6 separate regions of the Homo sapiens genome follow, and all the other regions are linked to region 4. Evidence: promoter capture Hi-C in 16 types of primary human blood cells and fetal thymus (Javierre and others, 2016). All regions are on one chromosome and are shown on one strand. The core of a region is centred on a gene start or on the middle of the fragment in contact, and the rest is flanking DNA. Distances in the headings are between cores, read along the strand shown. Region 1 overlaps SCIRT (stem cell inhibitory RNA transcript). Region 2 has its middle 2.8 kb from the start of SCIRT. Region 3 has its middle 22 kb from the start of SCIRT. Region 4 holds the start of RSPH9 (radial spoke head component 9). Region 5 overlaps SCIRT (stem cell inhibitory RNA transcript). Region 6 overlaps SCIRT (stem cell inhibitory RNA transcript).

Region 1 (2,723 bases), core at 120-2,619, 390 kb after region 4:
AGCCTGGTGCAGAAATTGAGAAGACTGGAAATGAGTAAGACTCATGCCAGGGCACTTAACAGGATCCACCAGTGGCACCTACTTTTCCACAGGAAGCCACACAAGTCAAGAATCCACCATGATTTTGCAAGATGGCTCCAGGGAAAGCCCTCCTGGGTTGTGCCTCAAATGCCCAAAGGGCTCCTCATTCTGCCATGCACCCCACCTCATTCTGAAGGCCTAGCCCTCATTGTGTGTGCACATCCAACCTCCAGGGCCCATCTTGCCTCTTTCTATCCAAGTCCCTGCCTTTAGTGCCTGCCCAGGGTCCTGGATCCCCCAAGGCTGGGACCCGCCTTGCTCTTGCCTTTCTTGTCAGAAGCTGTACTTCTGTCCTTAGCCCCAGTCTGATGGCAGGAGACCCTTCCTGCTGACCAGTCTTCCCACTATATTCCCAGTCTCCCATGGCTGGGAAATAGGGTTGGCTTCAGTTGTCCCTACTGGGATGCACCAAAAGTAGCAGGAAAAGATTCAAGAACCCTTTAATGCTCACAGCTTCGTCAGCATCCAGACGTCGTTCAGTCCCCTGCCTCCAGAGCAGGGTGTCCACCACTCACTCTTGCTGGCCTCCTGTCAATGGCTGACCATGCTCTTCTCACTTTGCCTAAAACTCAGTTTACCCCCACACCTGTCTATATGCTCTATTTTCTCTCCTGATGAAAGAGCGGAGAATGTGTCTATACTCACTCAGGTATACAACACAGTTACAAAACCACCTTCCTTCCTCTTAAATGACTGCATTAATTAAAGGTTTGTAGGCCTGGAAGATGCTAAGGTTCTAGGTCAAGGAATTTCCTCTTCTGTGCTCCTAGAGCTGACAGTTGTAAGGAAAGGAAGGGCAGCTCAGGGAGGACATCTAAAGGGCTCTCTTGTCTCCTGGTTACCTGGCCTCAGCACATCGCCCACACCCTCTGCCACTTCAATCCCTGCCCAGAGGGGACAGAGGGGACACTGGAAAATCCCCTCCCTCCCTCCCTCTAACCCTCTCCTCTCTCCAACAAGCCCTGGGCACAGCAATGTTCACCCAAGAGTGATGCTGAAGTCAGCCAGGTTCCTAAGAAAGGGTCATGGCCAGAGGACTTCGAAACTGCTTCAAGAAATGGAGGGAGGGTGCGGTGACTTCATATGTTTAGGACCAAAGAACAGTCCTAGGGATGCTGGAGGAGATAGGGGGGAGGACGTGGTCACTGCTTTCAGAAGCTGCTGCATGAAGGCTGCATGCTGCAAATGTTAAGAAATAGCCATGCCAGGCTGACATCTTCCTGACCTCCTGCCACCTTCAGGGCTCTCCTTTAGCCTCCCTGTCCTAGTGTAAGAGTAGCCACCTGTGCCTGCATTGAGTCCACTAGCCTGGGAGAGGCCCAAAGTTCTGGATCATGCCTCCCTCAAAAGACTGGGGCTCAAGATAGTCCTGAGGGTGACAGAGGTGCAGGGCTTCCTCAGGGGGCAAGCAGAAGAGTCCTGGTTTTCTTCCAAGGACCCCTGCCCCCTGCTGTTCAGTCCTCTCCAGCCCCCAGGGCTTCTCAACCCCCTGCTCGTCTCCACATACTCTGTCAGCCTTAAGGAGGCTCTTGTGGATCCTCATTCCTTCGGGACAGGAGGCCAACAGCTATGTCCTGAGCCTCAGCTCTTCCCTGGCCATGCCCCCGCCTCACACCTCCAGCCCTGATTTTGTGCCTCTGCTTCCAAGGGAGGAAGATGAACGACGGAGGAAGTTCTGAGCTAAGGAAGGGAGTATTGATGAAAGTTGTGTTGACAAAAGAATGTGTCAAGACTAAGTATGATTCTTTCCAGAAGTACAAGAAAGCCAAATTCTGGGAAACTCAACATAACCTACTATATTAGCATGTAAAATAGATTAATTTTCCCAACATGTTTAATGGGGAGACTCTAAAAGCAGTCCCGTTAAAGTTGACGTCAGCTCTCCCCATAAACTATCACCATTAGTATTTAATATTGTTCTGCAATTACTTGACAATGCAGTTAGATGAAAAATAAAATAAGAGGTATAAATATTGTAAAAAGAAAGCAGTTATTATCATTGGATGATATTACTCTATACTTGGATATTCCAAGAGAATCAGCTAAAGAACTTTTAGTAATATCAGGAATTTATCAAAGTGGCTAGTTTAAAAACAAGATTTCCTAAATACAAGAAATAACTAATAAAAGAATATGGAAAAACATCCCATTAATAAGGTTAACAAAAACCTAACATAAAACACATAGAAAAAATGTGCAGATACATGGAAATAGCTGTAAAAGCTAAATGAGGGACATACACATAGACTTGAATCGATGGAGAAAGACCTTTTCCTTGGATAAAAAGTCAGTAATATTGTAAGCATGTCAGTGTCACCATAATTAAACTATAAATTCAGCATACTTCTGTACAAAATATCAGCTGCTTTTGGGGGATAATTTGACAAAATGATTACATACAAATTCCTCTGGAAAAATAAATATAAATGAATAGAACATTCCTGGAAGGAAAAATAAGTAAACTAACAAGGAAAGAGTAGCACTATAAAACATTTTTCAAAAATAGTATACAGCTACAATAATTAAAATAGTGTGGGACTGGTGCCTGCATACAGATCAATTGGAAAGAATAAAACAATTTTAAATAGGCCCAAATAAACATGAGAATTCAATTCAATAAATTGAGATACTAGTCAGATATT
Region 2 (2,774 bases), core at 263-2,762, 430 kb after region 4:
CTCTGAAAGCAATGGGGCAGGGCGGGGACAGGGGGAGGAGAGGGGAGGGGAGGAGGTAGGGGGCTGTGACCTAACTGGGCTCAAACTCTCAAACTCTGGTCAGCCTCCTTCTGGACCACAGCAAACCTGTGTGTACCCACCCACTTAGGAGACCCTCTCCTGGGCCCCAGGTCAGAGCAAGACCCAAAGTGGACTAGGGTGGCTCTGCAGAAAAAGCAGGTGCCCTGGGGTGGTGGGAACAGGCCTTTTGAGGTTAGGGAGGTGTGGACTGGCATGAGGGAATTGGAGAGGTGCAAGGAGCTCTGGGATGGGAACTGGTCCCTCTCCTGTCACGTATAATTCCATCCCTCCCAAGGTCATTGCTGTCACCCAAGTTAGGGGCCCAGCCCCCTCCTTTGGTCAGTGAAGTCCCAGGGCAGCCCATTTTAAATACAACGGGGCCTGAAGGCTAACTTCTGGCCTTCCTGCTTCGGGAAATCATTCCAATAACCGGGAAAAAAGGGGGCCCGAGGACAGAGCCCCTGCCGGGCCCCAGGGGGAGTGTCGTCGGCTCCTTTGCGTCGCCGGCCGGCGGCGTGGCGGGGACTCTGGCCGGCAGCCTCCCGCGCCGTCCGGAGCAGCTGACCCGCTGGCGGTGGGCCAGGTCGCGGCGGGGCCTGGAGGCAGCAACGTGCGGCGCGGCATGTCGCGGGCGCCGCGGCAGGGAAATGTGGGGGCGGGCCGGCGCGCCCCCTCCCCCCCGCCTACGCTGGCCCATTCATAAAACCTGCAGGCGCTGCCCGGCCTGGCAGCCTTGGTCTCCTAATTGCAAACTCATTAAGGAGTTTGCATCTCATTTGCATGGAAATCATTTCCTGGCCCTAAACAGAGAAACTTCCCGCCCCTCCACCAGCCCCTCTCTGCCCTGCTTTACCCATGCACAGTCTGGGAGAGGAGAGGGGGCATATCTCTGACCTGCGCCCCTTCCCTGGCCTCACCACCACCCTCCCACTTTAGGAGTTGGGGAAGGGATTGGCAGAACACCCACCCAGCCAGGAGCCCTGCCTGTGCCCCAGGTGAGCCGGCCCTGCCCTAGTGGGTCCAACTGAGGGGAGGTGCCTGCCAAGTCATTTGCCCCCCGGCCTGGCCGTGCCCAGGGAAGGGAGGAGGCGGTCGGCAGTTGGCCCCAGCAGCTGGTTGTACCTGGCAGGAGGTGGGTGAGGCTTTTCGTGCCCAGCCTCACGTACGTGCCCTGCCATAGGCCGTGCCCCCACCCCCACACCCCTCACCCCACAGAACAAGCGCCTAGTGACTGCAGAAACAGACACCCAGTCATGGCACACAAAGGCACCCACACCAGGCCAGCCATCATGGCTGCCCCCCTGGCAGCCACCCTGGAGGGCAGACAGATGCCTTCACAAGCCATTTTGTCTTTCTCCAGCTTGGTGCCAGGACTGGGGGTGGGGGAAAGGGTTTCTCCTGAGACTTCTCTGAGTAAGGGGGCCCACAGAGGGGTTTCCTTATGTACCCCAGCTGTGGCCTCTTGCCCCCTCTCTCCTGTAACCCATGTTTACAGAGGCCTCCAAGTGCTCTACCCTGCATGGGGACCTGCCCAGGCGAGGGGGTCACAGGAGCCTCCAACCCAGGAGGGGAAGTGAGAGATAAAGCCCCTAAGGAAGGGACACCTAAGTGCCTCCCCAACCAGGGTCTGTCCTTCGTGTCCCAAGTGTGTGTAGTGGAGGGAGTGCTCCCCAGTTTCCTGGGGGTTGAGGTGGGGCGGTATTCTAAACCTTTGGAAATGGAATAGAACTACCTAAAGTATATGAAATTAGATACTACTTGGGACACTATGTCTTGGTTCTGTATGTCCTGGGACAGTGTAAAAAGTGATCACAAAATTTTCAACATCACAGTCTAAAATAAAAACCTGCCTCTTGTCTGCCTCCTCAGACATAAACCTGCTTACGCTTCCCATCTGCCCACACTCCCACCTGCTGTATCTGAAGTTTCTCCCTTCCTTTGCTAGGGCATAAAGGGGTGGGCAAGGATGTTCTGGAACACTGACCACACATCCGTCCTGAGTATGGCTGGACTGACCCTACCCTCCCAGCTCCTGGAGCAGTTGGGTTCCAAGTGCCATATGTGTGCGTGGTTCAGGGGTACTGGAAGAAAGTTTTAGAATGCCTATTTATTTTTCATCGAATCCTTTTTTCATTTAGTGTGAGTGTGTTTTACAAGGTAAACTATATAAAAACATACTCATCTGACGGGTGCGTACTCAACAATCTTTTTTATTGCTAAGGGCACATGATCAAAAAAACTTCGGAGGTCACTGGCCTAGACTTCAGGTGGGGCAGCTGTGGGCAGGGGATGGCTTGTCTTGTCCATCTAAGTATCCAGCCTGACACATGACTAGTTCAGAGCCTGGCAGGGAGCAGAGGTCAGGGACACAGTATTGAATGAATGAAGTCCACCCCTAGAACTGACAGATGAGGAAACTGAAATAATTCTGGGGCGGGGAGATTGCTCAGAGGAGGACATGGGCAGGTTGAGAGAGTCTCCCCTCATTGCTGCTATGTCTGCAGCCTGCCCGTGTCCAACACCCAGCACCCACACAAACCTTACTTCTACCCACCCCAGGGAGCACAGCTCCCTCCTCTGCCTACCAGCAGAGTGGCCACCTGTCTTGAGCTTCTTACTGGATCCTGATTAGCAGAGCCAGACAGGGTTGTCACCTGCCATATCCCTCTACGTGGCAGAAAGTCTGTTGCCAGCTTTGTATCCTAGAACTCTCT
Region 3 (2,829 bases), core at 223-2,722, 450 kb after region 4:
GAGAGGTGGGGCAGGACAGGGCCCGTCAAGCCCCAGAGGTAACCAAGACTGAGAAGGAGTTTCACTCTTGTTGCCCAGGCTGGAGTGCAATGGTGCGATCTTGGCTCACTGCAACCTCTGCCTCCCGAGTTCAAGCGATTTTCCTGCCTCAGCCTCCTGAGTAGCTGAAACTACAGGCGTGTGCCACCACACCCAGCTAATTTTTGTATTTTTAGTAGAGACAGGTTTTCACCATGTTGGCCAGCTGGTCTCGAACTCCTGATCTCAGGTGACCCACCCTCCTTAGCCTCCCAAAGTGCTAGGATTACAGGAATGAGCTACCACACCCGGCCAAGAAAGTATTTTTACAGACCCCAAGAATGGGGTGTCCAGCTGGGCGTGGTGGCTCATGCCTGTAAAATCCCAGTACTTTGGGAGGCCAAGGTTGGCGGATCACCTGAGGTCAGGAGTTCGAGACCAGCCTGGCCAGCATGGTGAAACCCTGTCTCTACTAAAAATACAAAAAATTAGCTGGGCGTGGTGGGAGGAGCCCGTAATCCCAGCTACTTGGGAGGCTGAGGCAGGAGAATCGCTTGAACCCGAGATGGCGCCATTGCACTCCAATCTGGGTGACGAGAGCGAAACTCCGTCTCAAAAAACAAAAAAAGAATGCAGTGTCCCCAGCCCCAGGCCCCGCCCTGCTTCACCCCACCTCCCTCCACAGTTTGGCCTGGGTCCATGGCTGGAGTCCCTTCCTAGCCTATAGCCCCAGGCCCTGCTGCAGTGACCCCCATCAGCCCAGGGCATTCTGTTCATGCCCCATGACTCTCATGAAGGATGAGAGCAGGGTGCTGGCTTTACAGGAGTTGGGTGAACCTCAGATACTGAGAGTGGACAACACTTACACAGCCCTGACCCGGAAAGGGGACCTGTTTTAAGTGCCTTATTTTGACTCACTTCAACCCTACAAGGTACGTACTATTACATTCCAAGGAGGGGAAACTGATGCACAGGGGACTTGCCCAAGGGATGTGAACCCTGGCAGTCTGGTGCCAGGGTCTGTCCTCCGTACTCCACCTCAAGGTAGTCATTGCTCTCTCTAGACTCTGAGTGTCTCTACCTGCTCTCCTCTCTCCTCTTTGCTTTCACAATGATCCTGCCAGATGCTCTCTTTCCTGCCAGAAGGGAGGGCTACATGTGAAAATCTGGCATCAGAGTCTCAGCCACTCCCTTCTCAGGAACCACCTGCCTGCCTGCCATAGCAGGCGGTGAAGAGCCAGCCCTGACATCAGACAGCTCCTGGAGGCAGGCAGGCCTGTCTGAACCCTCCTCCCTGCTGCAACAGAAATGGCTACCAGCCCCACTGGCCAGGCCTACAGCAGGCTGTGCCTGGCCCCCACTTGACAGGCAGCACTCACCTCTCACCTCTGCTCTGGGGGCCCAGCTGAGGCAGCACCTGCCCAGGATGTCATGGTGCCATAGTTGCACCAGCTCCAGGACCAGGGCAGCTGAACGCCCCTTTGCCCACTAGATGGCACAATGTGCACAGAAATGTGGGTTGACCGCTTGGCCACCCTTTCCACCTGCAGAGGAACTGGATTTCACCACACTCTGCATTTATCTCATTTTTATTCTCATTCCTCATCCTAACCCATAGCCAACCATTTGTATGTGTCCTTGCAAAACAAGTGCATGTATTTTTTAGTTTCACAATTAGTAATATATATATATATATATATATATATATATATAAAAAACACACACACACATTATAGATATATTTCTTAATTGTTTTCGCTCAGCACTGTATTTTTAAACCTCATTCATGTTGCTGTGAGCACATTTAGTTTCTGGTGGGCACCTTCCACATTTATTTACCCACTCTGAGGGCGACAGGCACCCAAGTTCCCTCCAACACCCCAGCAACCCTGCCATGACCGTCCTTGACAGGAACCGTTACGGCTCGGCCTGAAAACCTAAGAAGCGGAATTGCCAGGTTACAGGGCATGCAGCGACTTCATTTGGCACAGTACTGCCAGCCAGCTCTCAACCCACCCAGTTCTTGGAGGGTTCCTGGGGAAAAGACGCCCAGCCTCCTAGGACTAGTCAGCCTAGCACCCCTTCCTGTGGGGAGGGGCCCCAATCCTTTCTGCTTGGGCCCAAGGGAGATGGAGAGCCAGTGGCCTCTGTCAAGAGCGTCTTGCAAAGGTAAGACCTTAAGGTCCTACATCTCCCCTGGGCATTTTTTTTTTTAAGTAAAGGGCAATGGCTGGCCTGTTAAATCCCCCACATCCCTCTCTTCAGGAGCCTTTCTGATTACAAAGCCCATTCTTTTTCTCCCTTCTCCTCCCACAGAACTATCCCAGTTTCCTGCATTTTCCCATTTCTCTTCCTCTGCCCATCCCTTCCATGTGAACACCCTACACTTACTAGCTATGTGTCTGTGGACAAGTTACTTGGACTCTCCCTCTTTGTCTATAATATGGAAATAAGTAATATCATTACTAATAATAGGCACACAGGCATAATCCCTCCCTGGCCTCTGCACACAGCCCTCTCTCTAACTCAATGCTGCCCCACTTCCCACATATATTTAAGTAGCTCAAGCCCCTCCTCCCCCAGGAAGTCATCCCTGATTGAACCAGATACAGTCCCAATGTCCTTAATCCAACTGTCACCTACTAAGAGCTCAAGTGATTATTTTTGGCTGAAATTTGAAATAACAATAATGGCTATGATTGATACGCTGAGCACCTACTATGTGCCAAGAATTCTACGGCCTACTCCATATCCACACAAGAGCCCTGGAAGGCAGACATTGTCATCCTGACTTCTCAAATGAGGAGGCTG
Region 4 (2,700 bases), core at 111-2,610:
GGTTTCACCATGTTGGTCAGGCTGATCTCATAACAATGCCTTCCTAAACAATGCCTAAGCCTGGGCGTGGTGGTTCACACCTGTAATCCCAGCACTTTGGGAGGCTCAGGTGAGTGGATCACTTGAGCTCGGAGTTCAACACCAGCCTGGCCAACATGGCAAAACCCCGTCTCTACTAAAAATACAAAAAATATTGGGTGTGGTGGCACACACCTGTAGTCCCAGCTACCTGGGGGGCTGAGGTGGGAAGATCACTTGAGCCCAGGAGGTTGAGGCTGCAGTGAGCTGAGATCACACACCACTACACTCCAGCCTGGGTGACAAAGTGAGACCCTGTCTCAACCCCCGAAAACCAACAATGCCCAGACAATCAAAAAAGTAATTATCTGGGTTATTTACACACTTATTTATCAGCTGGGGCCCAGGTCATTCTGATTTCCTGAGTGCTCTTCAAAGGAATCCAGAAATGAAAATATCAACTAGCAACATTAACGATAAAGCCCATCTCCTGTGGCAACAAGCTTGCTGAGGAACCTGTTTGTTTGTCCTTGGCTGGGGACTCAAGAAGTGAATGTGGAGAAGTGATCTAGCCCAGGGAGTGAAGCTCCAGTTGCAGTGAGGTTCTGGCCTTTCATCTCTTGCTACCATTTGGATCTAAAAACAACAGTTGGTGGTAGTTGGTAGTTGATGAGAAAGGTGGTAGTTGATGAGAAAGTGTAGTCTATAAAAGTCCCCCTTTTTGTATCTCTCTCCTCACCCTCCTTTCCCAAGGTGTTACCCTATACCTTGCCCCCATTGCCTAGATTTTCATTTGTCACTTAGAATATTTCTATGGAAAGGGTAGATAAAGAAGACAGCTGGTGAAGATGGAAGAGAATGGATGGACCTCATTCTGTAAGACCTGGCTTGGGGTGGGGTGCGGGTGGAGGTAGTCGGGTTGACAGAATCTTAATTAGAGCCAGGAGGAATCTCAAATTCTTCACAGATCATTCTGAGGTCAAGAAGTGACATGACTGGGGTGAAATAGTACAGTTAGTGTCAGTGTTGGGGTTTTGTATTGTTTTCTTTCCAGACCCCAGGTCCATATACAGTAAAGACTCTAAATGTCGACTATGTGAAAGGGCTCAGGGAAGGCCAAATATCTATGGAAAAAGGCTGGGTTTGGACTTACAACCCCAACTGTAGCCTAACTGTAGGGGAAGCCATACTGTGGCCGTGGCAACTGAAGACATCCCGTCCCAAACTCTGGAAAGGATGAGGGAGGGGGCTGATGCCTAGGCCTCCGTGGGGAGGAGGTCTGGGCGGTAGGCGGTGGGGTGGGTGGAACCTAGCGTCCAGCTAGGCGGAAGGGCGGAGCTTCAGGTCTCCATGGAGGCGGCTTCTCCTAGCAACTCGACGGGCGTTGAGCGGAGCCGCTGACCTGATGGACGCCGACAGCCTCCTGCTGTCTCTGGAGCTGGCGTCCGGCAGTGGGCAGGGCCTCAGCCCGGACCGTCGGGCCTCGCTGCTCACGTCTCTTATGCTGGTTAAGCGCGACTACCGCTATGATCGGGTTCTCTTCTGGGGCCGCATCCTTGGCCTCGTCGCCGATTACTACATCGCGCAGGGCCTGAGTGAGGACCAGCTCGCACCGCGCAAGACGCTCTATAGGTGAGGAGGCCCCCGGGACGGGCTCCCCAGAGGGTGGCTACCTGGAGGCAGGGCGGGGTGGGCGGGTCGCAGCAATTGAAAGGGGCGGGGCCCATGGGGCCAAGGGAGGTGTGGGCGGGATCTGAGATGAGTGGAATGGGGGAGACCCTGGGGGGCGGGCCTGGGGACGGTCAAGAGGTGGTTGAGGGAAAGGGCGGGGATGGGGATGTCTCGGAATCTGAGGCTAGGGCGGAGCCTGAGAGGGCGGGGCAATGGACGGGCGATGTCCCCCGGAGGGCGGGGCCTTGCGAGAGCTTGTTCTCCGCCTGAGGAGGCCAAGAGAAACTTACATGCGGATGGGTTTATAAGAGAGACAGGGCCAAGAACGCAGGTGAAGCAGTGGGAAGGTTTCTGGAAAATGCGGACCTGGAGAAGAAGCCAGGTTCCAGCCAAGTGCTGGGCCTGGCTCAGTTTGGAGAAGGCTCAGTTTGGAGAAGAGTCAGACGCCAGAGGGAGAGGGTGGTGCTCTTTGATAGAGGTATCTGCTCTGGAGCTGGAGGCGCTTTTGGAAATAGAGAACGAATGCGGAATGGGGAGAGAGCTGGGGAAAATTCCCTGGTCACTACCATACAGGACCATCCAGCTATTTATTTATTTATTTTTGTTTTGAGGCAGAGTCTTGCTCTGTCACCCAGGCTGGAGTGCAGTGTCGCTATCTTGGTTCACTGCAACCTCCGCCTCCCGGATTCAAGCGATTTTCCTGCCTCAGCCTCCCAAATAGCTGGGATTACAGGCACGTGCCACCACACCTGGCTATTTATTTATTATTATTATTATTATTATTTTAGACGGAGTCTCGCTCTGTCGCCCAGGCTGGAGTGCAGTGGCTCGATCTCGGCTCACTGCAAGCTCCGCCTCCTGGGTTCACGCCATTCTCCTCCCTCAGCCTCCCGAGTGGCTGGGACTACAGGCGCCCGCCACCATGCCCGGTTAATTTTTTTTTGTATTTTTAGTAGAGACGGGGTTTCACCGTGTTAGCTAGGATGGTCTCGATCTCCTGACCTCGTGATC
Region 5 (2,700 bases), core at 154-2,653, 410 kb after region 4:
ATTCAAGCTGCGCATGACCTGCCCCACTGTCGACAGCCAGCTGTGACTCACAACTCCTGAGCCTTTCCTCTTGGCCAGAGATCGTGGAGTAGATATTACAGTAACATTACTAACCACAAGTAGAGGCGGTGACCGTACTTACGCTCAGAGCACCTCCCCCCACCCCTGAGACCAGAGCAATGACCTCACACTCATGTTCGGCAGCAAGCACGGACAGTCCTGCCCGGAGGCAGGGGGATGGCCCACATGGCCCTGGTCTTCCAGAGAAGCCCAGCGTCTGGCCTCTTCCCCTCAGCGCTGGTCACATTCTCCCCACCTTCCCCTCCAAGCAGCCCACCTGGGGTAGGTGCTGAGTCCCCTGCTGCTGCCTCCCCCGGGTGAAAGCAGAGTAAACAGTCCCCCTCTCCCCCGCCTCCCTGGGGAGGGCTGGAGGAAAGAAAGGGAAGTGACAAAAGCTGCCCTATCCCTGTCCTTCCTCACTGCTGGGTCTAGGACACTTATTCTGGGGAAAGTGGCGTCTGAGGATGTGGCTGCAGTGGCCAGTTGCTGGCGCCAGCAGAAATCCCCAAGCCCGTCAGTAGACTCTGTTCAGACGCGTTCGCTGACCATGGCACTGAGTAAGTGCTGAGGAGACACCTGAGGACCCAGGTCACGCCCCTGCCTGCCCTCTCCTCCCAGACAGGCCCCTCCTAGGGCTCAGACCATTCCAGTTCCTCTTGTCAGACCCTGAGAAGGCCCAGGGCATCCACCCCTACAGGGAAGGCTCAACAGGAAAGAAAGAAACACACAGGAACTGGGCTCAGAGCCCAGCTGCGTGCTCTTGGGCAAGTTACTTAACCTCTTTAGGCCTCAATTTCTCAACTATAAAATGGGACTAAGACTAGCTGCCTGTTGAGCTGTTGTGAGATAAGTGAGTGCACTGGCCTGGATCTGCAGACGGTGGACAACAGCCAACGGCAGCCGGATGTGGCATTGTGCTGCTGCCTTTAGCAGCTCCAGGCAGTAACTACTGAGTATCAGGGAAGAACTGAGACCTCAGAGAAGGGAGAGAACCAGGATTGCTTGAGGCAGGGCGTTGGGAAGGCCCCACTTACCCTCTGGCAGTTGCAATCTAAAAGGAACAAAGAGGCTTTGTGGCAGATCCTGTCTCCTAATATCCATTCCTCGTTTATTTCCCAACTTTTAGCCAGACCCCCATGGAATAAAGACTAGACTACCTAGCTTCCCTTGCAGCTAGGTATGGCTAGATGACTGAGTTCTGGCCAATGGAATATAAGTGTGACTTCTAGGAAGCTTCCTTGAAGGGAAGGGGCATGTCCTTCTTCAGGCTTTCTTCTTCCTTCCTGCTGGCTGGGGCTCCAGCAGCCATCTTGGGCAATGAGGTGACCCTGGAAATGGAAACCACACCTAGCAGGTCAGAAAGATAGAAGGAGTCTCTGACCACATCCCAGAAATATTTTACATGAGCAAAAAATTCACTATTTATCTTGTGTAAACCAAAATTTAACTGATACAAGCTTCTCCTCTGGTGAAATAATCTCGACTCATGTGTGGCTGGGCAGAGTAGGATGGATGAGGTGTCTAGAAGAGAAGAGTTACCAGGGGTGTGATGTCCCCATCCAGGAGCACTTCCTCCTACTTGCCCTGTGAGGTCAGGAGGAACCCTGTTGGGAGGACTTGGCTCCAGGAGGATGGATGGATGGATGGATGGATGGATGGATGGATGGATGGATGGATAGATAGATGGATGGAAAGGAGGGAAGAGCCCAGGTAAATGCATGAGATGAGGAGAAATACCTAGAAGGAGGAAATACCCTGGGAAAACACTTCAGATGACAGAGAGCCAGGCTAGGGGTGTGGGGATAGCAGAACAGGATGGCCTACCTGACTCACTGCCCAAGTCGGACTCTCAGTTTTCCCACCTGTGCTTTGGGAATGGGCCTTATCGCCTCACTCAGGGCCAGCGTGAAGTGATTCAAAAACCAAACCAAAACTAAACAGAGAATCAGTGTAGCATTAAATCCGTTGTCAGCCCAGACAAAACCCTTCTCTGTGCCTGGGATTCCTATAAAGTAAGGATACCCGTGGACCCCACCTCACCTGGCTGTTGTGAGTATTCAGCGAAAGGGCTACTGTAATGTGCTCATCACAGTGTCTGGCACAAGGCAAGTGCTCAGTAAGCAGTCAGTGCTATTATTGCTGCTGTTGAAATCCTGCCCTGGGGTGTGAGGAACAAGAAGCTGCCACTTGATTGGTCTGTGGCATGAGTTAGGGAAAGAAACCTGGACTCCTCACTCCAGAATAATATCTCCAGCGCTTTGGGGACCTAAAGGACCAGGTAATGCCTTGGGAGCACCACACCATAAACACACATCAGGATCCTGACGGCATAAGATGGAATGGGGGTAGTAGGGAGACCTGGCAGGGTGGGGGCAGCCAAGGCTTAAATTTTGGTACCACTGCCTGGGACCCCTGGAGGGACAGCTGTCAGGTCAGGCCCTGACCCCCAAGCTCTCCTCCTTGGCCAGGCCAGGTCCACATTTGGTCACAAGAAGCTGGCAAGAGGCCAGACAGGGCCGCAGATGCCATGGAGAGGGCAAACACAGGCCCGACGGAAAGGGGGAAAAAATCGGGCTTGTTCTGCCTGGGCAAGAGCAGGCTCAGGGGTGACATCAACGCCATGATAAGCAGTTAGATGAG
Region 6 (2,700 bases), core at 104-2,603, 370 kb after region 4:
TAAGGCCAGCACCGGGTCAGACTTGTCTTCTCTCCATGTTCAGGGTCTGCCCTGTCTCCAGCAGCCCCACTGTGGCTGGTGACCTGTCAGTGACTCACAGCCAGCTGTGGGCACAGAGTGGAGAAAGTGGCCTCCAGCTGAGCTCATGCACTAGCAATTAGCCCTCTACACCTCCTCACCATGGAGAGCCTCCCAGCTTCCACGCACGCACGTCCCAGGCTGCCCTTTCCCAACCGCAGCGTGGCTCTTGTGCTTATTTTAGCCTGATGAAGCCTCTTGAAATGTCAGAGCTGCAACCAACCAAGCTAGGGACCATCCAGTTGAATCCTTTCATTCAACCAGGGAGAAAATGGGGATTCAGAGAGGGAGTGAGAGATGCGCTTCAGGTCACACAGCTAATTGGTTGTGCAGCCAGAAATGAACTGCAGGCTTCCGGAGCCCAGATCCAGCTGTCCTTAACTCTAGGGGGCAATGTGCTTCAGGTAGCCCCTCACCAGACTTCTGGAGCCACTGGAGCCAGCACACATGTGTTTGAATCCTTCTTGGCCACTTGTCAGCTGTGAGACTATGGGCAAGTTACTCAGCATCTCCAGGCTTCTGTTTCTCCACCTGTAAAATGAGGATAACAGAGGCATGTCCCTCCCAGGTTGGTGTGAGGAATGAATGAGTTCATATATCTGAACTGCTAAAAGCAGTGCCAAGCACATAGCACACACTCAAAACACATTAGCTGACATTGTGTAGTCACCAAGACTTGGTCTCTGGTGTGGAAAGTTTAAAAATTCAGTTTTATGTGTTTGTCCATGGGTGAGCAGATTCTGGGACACCAGCCATATAACCAGACTTCTGGAAAACTGGTGGTGCTACTGTGGGGACAGGTGTTGCTGTCAGAAAGATCCACAGTAGACACAGAAACTGCCTTCCACTTTGGCAGTCACCATCTGAGACCCACAGATTGCAGACATCGAGGCAAAGGCAGTTTGGAGATTCTCAGGGCTATTCAAGCTCGGTGAGCCTGAAGAAGTGCCCTTCTGAACTCAAGAACTGGGCCTCTGTTTGTTAATCTGAAAAATAGGGGAAATCATAGCCTTGGGCTCACTGGGTGGTTGCAGGCATTAGATCAGGTGGGACAGTACCTGAAATAATCCTTTCTAGCCTTCCTCCTCCCTCTTTCTTTGTCACGACCCCCATCATCTGCTTGAGGCCAGTTCTCTCGATTCAGAGCTGCCTCCCCACTGGGCCCAGTTGGATAAACACTGACAAATTCTTCCCCTTCCAAGTTCCTCTTTTCCCAGTCACCAAATCTCTGATACCTCACACCAGATGAGTTATGGTCCCAGAACATGTACAAGATTGGGGTGTTCTCATTCCAACCCTGGAGATCCTTGTTGAATGGATGACTCAGTGAATCAACAACTGCAACGATTCCCAGAACTTCCTGAAAACTCACTCTGAGCTCTTAACATTGGGCAACACTCTGGTTTCCCCCAGAGCCCCACCACAAACCACCTCTGAGGAGAGGCGGCTCTGCAGTTGCCTCATCACTCTTTGCTGCCCTTCATCATGCTCATTTACACGAGAACTTTCTCTGCCCTTACTTCTCCACCACCCAGTCTGGACAACCAGGTGTGTTTGCATTCTCCCCTGCAGGAGGGCAACACAACCGTTCTGCTGTCCATAACCACTGCTGGCATGCCTAGTGGTCAGTCTTGAGCCCTCTCCATCTGCCCAAGTCACAACTGTCCCCCTACCCACCCCACCCAACTTCCTATGATTGCCTGCATAGGACAACTGACTCTTCTTGCTTGCTATTCCAGCTCCACTAATAGCCCATGACCCCCTCTTAGCCCCAGCCAGCCCCACCTGTAGAGTCCTGCTACGAGTGAGCCATTCCTCCCCAGGGGCATCACCTACTCGCTGCATTCTGTTCTTCAGGACAGACTGGAGCTCCCCAGACGAGAAGGCCTAAAGGGCTGGGAGCGGTGGCTCACTCCTGTAATCCCAGCATTTTGGAGGCCAAGGCGGGTGGATCACCTGAGGTCAGGAGTTCAAGACCAGCCTGGCCAACATGGCGAAACCCCGTCTCTACCAAAAAAATACAAAAATTAGCCAGGTGTATTGGTGGCGCCTGTAGTCCCAGCTACTCGGGTGGCTGAGGCGGGAGAATTGCTTGAACCCAGGAGGTGGAGGTTGCAGTGAGCCGAGATCACGCCACTGTACTCCAGCCTGGGCGACACAGCGAGACTCCATCTCAAAAAAAAGAAGGCCTGAGCCATTTGAGAGTTCATGCCCCTTTGAAGGCTGGGAATCTGAACACTAGTTCTGCCCTCAGGAGCCAGGATATGGCCTGGGCATCATCTCCAGCTTGGTTCCAGCTTATTCCCCACCATTGGCCCGCTGTCCAGCCCTCTGCATGTTTCTGGGCCACCAGTGGTCCCTACACGCCAACCAGAGGATTCCAAGAGTATCTCACCTGGAAGATCCTAAGGAATCACCCAGTCTAGTGGAGATGGTCTCTAGAGTGTTTGAAAATGTTTTGGAGTCTTTTTCATTGTAATAGTGATTAGAGATGTTCTGGCATTGGGTGCCCCAGGCCGGGCATGCTAGATCCCACAATGGACAAGGCAGTTTGCATAGTGAAGCATTGCACCCCTATTCTCCTTGGAGAAACACCACTTCTAGTCCAAAGTACTTCTTGTA

What was found. Contacts are between HindIII fragments. The CHiCAGO score rates a contact against its expected background, and 5 or more counts as called.
Region 1: a contact is called between a fragment that was not itself captured here and the fragment with the promoter of RSPH9 in region 4, in 2 of 17 cell types (erythroblasts and monocytes). The highest score is 7.8, in erythroblasts.
Region 2: a contact is called between a fragment that was not itself captured here and the fragment with the promoter of RSPH9 in region 4, in 17 of 17 cell types (erythroblasts, neutrophils, M0 macrophages and 14 more). The highest score is 17.1, in erythroblasts.
Region 3: a fragment that was not itself captured here is called in contact with the fragment with the promoter of RSPH9 in region 4 in 10 of 17 cell types (M0 macrophages, M2 macrophages, monocytes and 7 more); the score reaches 9.0 in M0 macrophages.
Region 5: a contact is called between a fragment that was not itself captured here and the fragment with the promoter of RSPH9 in region 4, in 9 of 17 cell types (erythroblasts, endothelial precursors, M1 macrophages and 6 more). The highest score is 9.8, in erythroblasts.
Region 6: a contact is called between a fragment that was not itself captured here and the fragment with the promoter of RSPH9 in region 4, in 1 of 17 cell types (erythroblasts). The highest score is 8.0, in erythroblasts.

Annotation. Positions count from the first base shown.
Region 1 is chr6:44,029,681-44,032,403 of GRCh38, forward strand. The region is part of intron 1 of SCIRT (stem cell inhibitory RNA transcript); the gene reads right to left. Among named protein-coding and RNA genes, the nearest start is that of LINC03040, 30 kb to the left of the region's middle. The HindIII fragment of the contact is 6,000 bases long and covers 1-2,723 here.
Region 2 is chr6:44,076,030-44,078,803 of GRCh38, forward strand. No RefSeq gene overlaps it. Among named protein-coding and RNA genes, the nearest start is that of SCIRT, 2.8 kb to the left of the region's middle. The HindIII fragment of the contact is 7,345 bases long and covers 1-2,774 here.
Region 3 is chr6:44,095,387-44,098,215 of GRCh38, forward strand. No RefSeq gene overlaps it. Among named protein-coding and RNA genes, the nearest start is that of SCIRT, 22 kb to the left of the region's middle. RefSeq lists silencers at 1,366-1,660, 1,438-1,607. The HindIII fragment of the contact is 6,139 bases long and covers 1-2,829 here.
Region 4 is chr6:43,643,676-43,646,375 of GRCh38, forward strand. RSPH9 (radial spoke head component 9) reads left to right here and starts at 1,361. Exons shown (of 5, transcript NM_152732.5): 1 at 1,361-1,650. The coding sequence starts at 1,424. RefSeq lists a silencer at 780-968. The HindIII fragment of the contact is 7,744 bases long and covers 520-2,700 here.
Region 5 is chr6:44,058,605-44,061,304 of GRCh38, forward strand. All of the region lies in intron 1 of SCIRT (stem cell inhibitory RNA transcript), which reads right to left. Among named protein-coding and RNA genes, the nearest start is that of SCIRT, 15 kb to the right of the region's middle. RefSeq lists an enhancer at 1-139 and a silencer at 440-509. The HindIII fragment of the contact is 224 bases long and covers 1,292-1,515 here.
Region 6 is chr6:44,010,848-44,013,547 of GRCh38, forward strand. All of the region lies in intron 1 of SCIRT (stem cell inhibitory RNA transcript), which reads right to left. Among named protein-coding and RNA genes, the nearest start is that of LINC03040, 12 kb to the left of the region's middle. RefSeq lists an enhancer at 1-584. The HindIII fragment of the contact is 3,154 bases long and covers 1-2,700 here.